Linked DNA regions of Homo sapiens: region 1 is linked to region 2. Evidence: promoter capture Hi-C in 16 types of primary human blood cells and fetal thymus (Javierre and others, 2016). All regions are on one chromosome and are shown on one strand. Each heading gives the region's core, a stretch centred on a gene start or on the middle of the fragment in contact. The rest is flanking DNA. Distances are from core to core; before and after follow the strand shown. Region 1 overlaps TIA1 (TIA1 cytotoxic granule associated RNA binding protein). Region 2 holds the start of ASPRV1 (aspartic peptidase retroviral like 1).

Evidence for each region. Contacts are between HindIII fragments. The CHiCAGO score rates a contact against its expected background, and 5 or more counts as called.
Region 1: a contact is called between a fragment that was not itself captured here and the fragment with the promoter of ASPRV1 in region 2, in 11 of 17 cell types (total CD8 T cells, activated CD4 T cells, monocytes and 8 more). The highest score is 7.9, in total CD8 T cells.

What each region holds. Positions count from the first base shown.
Region 1 is chr2:70,216,898-70,220,277 of GRCh38, forward strand. TIA1 (TIA1 cytotoxic granule associated RNA binding protein) reads right to left here. Exons shown (of 13, transcript NM_022173.4): 8 at 1-97. Among named protein-coding and RNA genes, the nearest start is that of C2orf42, 28 kb to the left of the region's middle. The HindIII fragment of the contact is 1,480 bases long and covers 1,047-2,526 here.
Region 2 is chr2:69,959,686-69,963,561 of GRCh38, forward strand. It overlaps ASPRV1 (aspartic peptidase retroviral like 1), which reads right to left and starts at 1,946. Exons shown (of 1, transcript NM_152792.4): 1 at 404-1,946. The coding sequence starts at 1,751. The coding sequence ends at 972. It overlaps PCBP1-AS1 (PCBP1 antisense RNA 1), which reads right to left. Exons shown (of 11, transcript NR_033872.1): 11 at 2,578-3,815. RefSeq lists a silencer at 1,832-2,126. The HindIII fragment of the contact is 12,271 bases long and covers 1-3,876 here.

The sequences.
Region 1 (3,380 bases), core at 537-3,036, 260 kb after region 2:
TCTTTGGAGCGGGAGGCTTTCGGGTTGCCCAGTTAGTTCTGATTTGTCTTCCACCAAGCCACTGGCCACCCATCTGTTGAATGGCGTTTTCAGCATCCTGTTCCGTACAACATTAGAAACAATAAAGAAGTCACTATTAGTTGATGTTAAACAACTCTTAGCAGTAGAGAAAACTTGGTGCTTTTCACAAATGTTTAAGTGAAAATGCTCTATGAAATACACAACATATGATAGCTTTCCTAAAATGCAATGGTGCTTTTTATATTTTTAAATTTTATTTTATTTATTTTTTCAGATAGAGTCTCGCTCTGTCACCCAGGATGGAGTGCAGTGGTGTGATCTTGGGTCACTGCAACCTCCGCCAACTGGGTTCAAGCGATTCTCCTGCCTCAGCCTCCTGAGTAGCGGGGATTACAGGCATCTGCCACCATGCCTGGCTAATTTTTGTATTTGTAGTAGAGATGGGGTTTCGCCATATTGGCCAGGCTGGTCTCGAACTTCTTCTTCTTTTTTTTTTCTTTTTTAAGTCTCGCTCTGTGGCCCAGGCTGGAGTGTAATGGCGTGATCTCGGCTCACTGCAAGCTCTGCCTCCCAGGTTCACGCCATTCTCCTGCCTCAGCCTCCCAAGTAGCTGGGACTACGGGCACCTGCCACCACGCCTGGCTCATTTTTTGTATTTTTAGTAGAGACACGGTTTCGCCATGTTAGCCAGGATGGTCTCGATCTCCTGACCTCGTGATCCTCCCAACTCGGCCTCTCAAAGTGCTGGGATTACAGGCGTGAGCCACTGTGCCCGGCCCTGGTCTCAAACTTCTGACCTCAAGTGATCTGTCCACCTCAGCTTCCCAAAGTGCTAGGATTACAGGCATGAGCCACCATGCTCAACCCAATGGTGCTTTTGTATTGTTTTTCTCTTATTTGAATATTAAATTTTGGGAACATTAATCATCTGAAAAGGTCGTGAGCCCGACAGCCCTAATGAGGTAGATATCATAAAGTTCATGCAACTCAGACTACTATAGAAGAAAATCTTAAACAATCTAACAAGCTTGTTAACAATATTTGGTTTCTCATTCATCCAACAAATAAATATTGAACAGTTATGTTCCAGGCATGCGGTTAAGAGCTAGGGACACACTGGTAAACAAGCATACATGGTCTCTTACATTCTTTTGTGGGGAACAAATAAAGCAATTACATATTGTGGTAAGACCTATGACAGAAACAAAAGGCTGAGATAGAGAATATGGGCACAAGGATCTACTACAGACAGGATGAATAAGAAAGGTCTCTCTGAAATGACATTTAAACTAAGCCTGACAGCAATAGGAGATAGCCAAGTCAAAACAATGAGGAAGAAAGCCCCAGTAGAGAGAAAAGTATTGCAAAGTGTGTTAAGGCACAAAAGTTTGGTATGCATCTGAAAGCAGCATGTGAAAGACTAGTTTCAGTGGAATCCAGCGAGCAAAAAAGAATGTCAGAGAATGAAACTGAAAGATTTTAAGCAAGGAATCATCATGACCTATGTTTTAAGAAGGCCATTCTTTTTTTCGAGATGGAGTCTTGCTCTGTCTCCCAGGCTGGAGTGCAGTGGCGCGTTCTTGGCTCACTGCAAGCTCCGCCTCCTGGGTTCCTGCCATTCTCCTGTACAGGTGCCAGCCACCAAGCCCGGCTAATTTTTTTTTGTATTTTTTAGTAGAGACAGGGTTTCTTTTTTAGTAGAGACAGGGTTTCACCGTGTTAGACAGGATGGTCTCCATCTCCTGACCTCGTGATCCGCCTGCCTTGGCTTCCCAAAGTGCTGGGATTACAGGCGTGAGCCACCGCACCCGGCAAGAAGGCCATTCTTAGCGCTAAGAGGAGAATGGCTTAGGATAATGGGTAGTAAGGGGATAAAGATACTTTATGAAACTTGTGCAATATTCTAGATTTTTAAAAAGTGTTGGTGGCCAGGAGCATTGCAGTAGCAGTGAATGTAACTTAAACTCAAGGCCAAAATAATGGGGGCTGGAGGGGACACCACAAGCAAAAGGAGAGAAAAGATAACTCTTAGGTTCCTCTAGAGAAATTGGAAAGACAGCATTTATTGAAATGCGGAGAAAGACTAGGAAAGAAAAGGGGAACAGGTCTGAGGAAGAAACAAAAAGCTCCATTAAGAAAAAACTTTGAGATGCCTGTGAGACATATAAATGAAGACCATTTGTTAATAAATGTGGAACGCAGAGAAGTAGACTGAAGATACAAAATTCATGCAGACTAGAGAAAGAGCCTAGGACAGAGCCCTGAAAAACAGCAAAACTTGAAAAATGGGTAAAGGAATAATCACTAGCTAAGGTGACTAGGGAGGAGTAGCCAGTGATGAAGGAAGAAAGCCACAAAAGTGTATGGTCCAGGGAGCCAAGAAAACAGAGGTTAAGAGGTGACCTTGAAAATAGAGTAGCATTGGTACAAAGTGAGAGTAAAACCAGCTTAGAGTAGACTAAAAAGTAAATGGAGTGTAACTTTTGTGTGCACACATCAAAGGTAAGCTTAATCTACTACTGAAGGAACAGGCAAATTCAAGGCCTTTCTTGAAATATGAAAACGAAATGCTTTAAAAAAAAATTAAATAGGGTCTTATTCTGTCATCCAGGCATGATCACAGCTTACTGTAGCCTTGAACTCCTTGGGCTCAAGTGATACTCCCACCTCAGCCTCCTAGTAGCTAGGACTATAAGCATGCACCAACAAGGTTGGCTGTTTTTTTTATTTTTTTAATTTCTTTACTATGGTAGGAACAGCCTTTACTGGTTGCAACAGGCAATGGGAGGGATTCGGGGTCCACAGACTAGGTCGCCAGGCTTTTTTTTTTTTTTTTTTTTAATGGAGACAGGGTCTTGCTGTTGCCCAGGCTGGTTTCTAACTCCTGGGCTCAAGCAGTCCTCCTCCTGCCTTGGCCTCCCAAAGTTCTGTTATTACAGGAATGAGCCACTGTGCCTGGCAGGAAATGCACATTCTTAAAAAGAAACAAATATTATCACCCCAACCAGTCCGAACTCCATGAGACGCTTAACTAATGTTATGTGTTGAATTGTGTCCCTCAAAACGATATGAAGTCCTATACCCTGGTATCTGTGAAATATGGCCTTATTTGGAAACAGGGTCTTTGCCGAAGTAATTAAGATGAGGTTATACTGGATTAAGGTGGGCCCCAAATCCAATGACTCAAGTCCTCATAAGAAGTAAAGATCAGACTGGGCACGGTGGCTCACACTTATAATCCCAGCACTTGGGAGGCCGAGGCAGGTGGATCATGAGCCCAGGAGTTCGAGACCAGCCTGGACAACATGACAAAATCCTGTCTCTACAAAAAATAGAAAAATTAGCTGGGCATGGTGTTG
Region 2 (3,876 bases), core at 696-3,195:
TTCTGCCTCCAAGTTCTCGCTCCTGGACAGCTGTAAGAACCTATTTGCCCAGCAGACACTTTCCTGTTTGTTTATCATAACCATAATTTCCCAATCCCCAATCAAGACATCTCACATAAAACTTTAGGGTCACTTTTGGGTATAGAGGCAATTTGTATGCTAAAATACTACAGATTGAAATAAGTAGAGGAATTATGACGATTCAAAATAATGAGAGCAATTCTGGAGGGAATAAGTCAAAATATTTTATGCTGAGACTGTCTTAGAAAATCCAAGACCTGTCATCCCTGTGTATATGTTCTTATACCTCCAGCTAGGCACTCAGTAGACATGTGAATCTCCCTTGTCTTTGATGCTGACTCCCTCTCACATTCCTCTCATCCTCAATCAACACATTACATGGTTTTTCCATGAATCAATCTTTATTGGTGTTTGCAGCAATTGAATTATTGGCATAAGGCACAATGGGCTTCAAAGCAAATGACAGAAAGAAAATACGATTGTACAGGTGGAAAGGCTCTTCAGGGAGGTGTCCCAGAGCAACTGTGACCCTCACAAAGACCCTGCAGCTAGGACCCAGCCCAACTAAGACAGGCTTTGAGGACCTGAGAGTGACCAAGCCATACCTCAGGGAATCTGAAGGGGTCCCACAGTTCTTTCAAAGACAAGCATTTCTAGCTTCCTTGGGAGCTCTTCCAGCCTTTGAGTCTTTGTCATCAACAGCAGCTTGATGACCATGGGGACCCTGTCCCTCTAAGCCAGCCTGCTCTCCCTCACCTGTGCCTGTTCAGTGGAAGCCTCCCCTACCAGGGGCAGATTAAGGCCCCTGCAGAGGGAGGCAAAGGGGAGAGAAGAGCAAGAGTTGATAAGCAGACTGGCCAAGCCCAGTGACCCCCATGAGGATATGCAACCCCCCCCACAGCGGTGGGTCTTCCCACCAATATTTAGGAGGTTAAAGAAAAGGTGGCTTCTCAGTGGGATAGCTCCTGCCGCCCTTCTTCTGAGGAGGGGTCCTCCTCTATGAGCTCCAGGTCAAACTCATCTTCCAGGGACCCTCCCACAGGCAGAAGGCGAAACTTCTTCCCTTTCAGGGTGCATGTGCGGTGCTCAAAGTCCAGGATAGCATTGTGGTCCTGGAGCACATCAGTGCCAATGATGGCTTCCTCGGCACTCGCATTGGCCACTAGGAACTGTGCCTTCAGCTTCAGCTTGCCTAGGGACACCGCTGTATCCCAGACACCCAGGATCTTCATTTCAGCACCATTGGCCACCTTTACCACATTCTCAAAGGGCTGCAGGGTGTCCAGATCGCCATCAGTGACCTCCTCCCACAAGTTTGGGTGGACCACAGAGACCTGGGCCCCAGAGTCCACCAGGAACCTCACGGGCACTTTGCCAATCTTCCCCTTGAGATAGTAGCCCTTACCCATGCTGTTGGCAAAGACGATCTCTTTGGGCAGGTGGCTGGGGGCAGCCCCAGGGACCCCAAAGGCCTTCAGGAGGGCCTCTTTCACAGTCCCATAGTCTCCCTGGTCCTGGGGACTGAGCCTATTGTAGACACCCAGGGCCTCTCCTCTGAGGGACTCTTTCAGGAACCTTAGCTTGGTGATATGGTCCCAATGGTTGAGGTCATTGATGACTTCAAAGCTGTGCAGCCAGAGGTTTGGGACGACATTGGCCCCATCAAAAGGTTCCGGGACGAAGGCATGCTGCCGGCGGCCTTCCTCACTCCTGGCTCCGCTCCCGGCCATCCTGCTGCTCTCCTCTGGAACCTCAGCAGCAACCCACGCCAAGAAGAGAAACCCACAGAGCAGTGTCGGCGCAATCACGCTGGAAAACGGGGCCTCTCGAAGCAGAGTGGGGATGACTTGCCCGGCCTTGGGCAAGCAGGAGGGAGCAGGCGCGGTCGGCTGGCTGACTGCTGGGGCAGAGGCAGGCAGTGCTGTGGCCTGTTCACTCTGCAGAGCCTTTTTGATGCCTAGGCTGGCCCCTGGGCTCCCCATTCTCCTTTGTTCTGGAAGCTCCGCCCCTCCTCACCCCGCCCTCCTGCCAGCATCCGGCCGGACTAGCAGGATGGGTGCCTCACCCTCTGCATCCATCCTTGGACCAACACCAGCCAGCCCACATCCCAAGAAAGGCCAGCCTCTGTTGAAGGGGGACTACCCTGTACCCTCCCTGGCCTGTGTTCCAGAATAACAGATGAGGACACGGAGGATGTGATGACATTCAGGTATTTGTCATCAGCCAGTGAAGGAAGGGGAGGCAGGGACCAGACGCCCATCAGCTCAGAGACCGGGGAAGCCGCCATTGGCCTCCCCAACAAGTGACTACTTTGAGTGGTCAAAGGAAAACAGTTTACATGTACTGAGCTCCTACCACATGCCAGGCACTGGGAAGTGTCTCACACACATTCTAAAGCAGGTATGGGATCCTATGGGATTTCCTGGAGAGGGAGGCAGAGGAGGGTTCCAGCATAAAGAATGCACAGAAATGGTCTTTTTTAAGTGAGTGAGGACACACACACACACACACACACACACACACACGTGCACAATCATCTTACATGGACTCAACTGCTGCAGTAATTTTCCTTCATTGATCACCCCTGATTCAGAGGCAGAGGGGTGGCCAAGCAACTCTGGGTAGGCCCCATACTGCACTCCATGAGCATTGTCTCCACCCTATCCACCCCTCTCCATTTCCAGGAACTGTTCCAGGGCCCCTTCCCCAGGCACTGCAGCACTTCCTCTCCCACTCCCCAAGCTGGTCATTTGTGGAAAGATCACGGGAAATTTCACTCCCTTTTCATTCTGAGAGGGAAAATGTCCACTATGTTGGTGATGCCAGTGGTGAGGACCTGGAGGGCTCTGGCTCTGTGCCCCTCGCTGCAGGGGTAAAGGGTAGCACGGGAGGACATCCAGTCGTCTACAGAGGACATCTGTGAGTCCAAGGGCTGGAGGCCTGACTTGGGGCTGTGCAGGGGCTGTTGAAGGGATCCACTTTTATGTCCCCATTCAAAGGTCACTCCATGGAGCCTTCTGCCTGTCCCTAGAAAGGGCACCCACTCCTCGTTGAGCGTGTTTTACGGTGTGATCTGGTGGTTTGTTCACAAGTCTGCCTCTTGCTATGAACCAGAGTCTGGGGCTCACAAACCTGGCATTTGTGATTGTCTCCAGCCCCCAGAACAACTTCCTCTGGGACCCAGGGGCTCTTTGCTGGGCTCCAGGCCTAGCTGTGTGCTGTCACCAAACAGGAGTGATTAAGGATGGGAGAGGAGGAAGACTCGATGGCACACCTGTGGCTCTGGGGCTGTTTTTCCTGGCCAAGAGCCTGTCCCTCTTCAGCTCCCTATGCCATGCATCACCCAGTGCCTGGCGGAATCCCAGCAGTACCCTGCCTTTGGACAGTCCTGCCTCTGGATGGCCCAGGTCCCCAACCACAATGCAAGACTGTGCTGTCCCCAGCCCCTTCCACCTGATTCAGTGAGCCAGCAGAGAGGCAGTTGGGTCAACACCTCTCATCACAGCTGCCTGGCTAAGGTGGGGCCATTGTGGCATTCCAGGAGCCCAGAGGAGGGGAAATGGAGTCACCGAGAAGGTGTTGAGAGCAGGTGGTTCTTTGAGAAGACTGTATAATGAAAAACCTGCATCCAGAGAAATGGCCCAGCCACACGCAAGACCAGGAAGCCCTTTCTGCAGATGGACTTTTGCAGATAGCTTCCCAGCTGCTGGGATGAGTGTTGTTCTGTGGCTCAAAGAACTGATCCAGTGGTTTCCTGATTCCCTGGTATTCATTACCTCTGCACATCTGGTCCCCTGGAAGTGGAAATGAGTGAGGAGGTTAGCATGCGACCAAGGGAGGAGCGAGGCAGGTGGC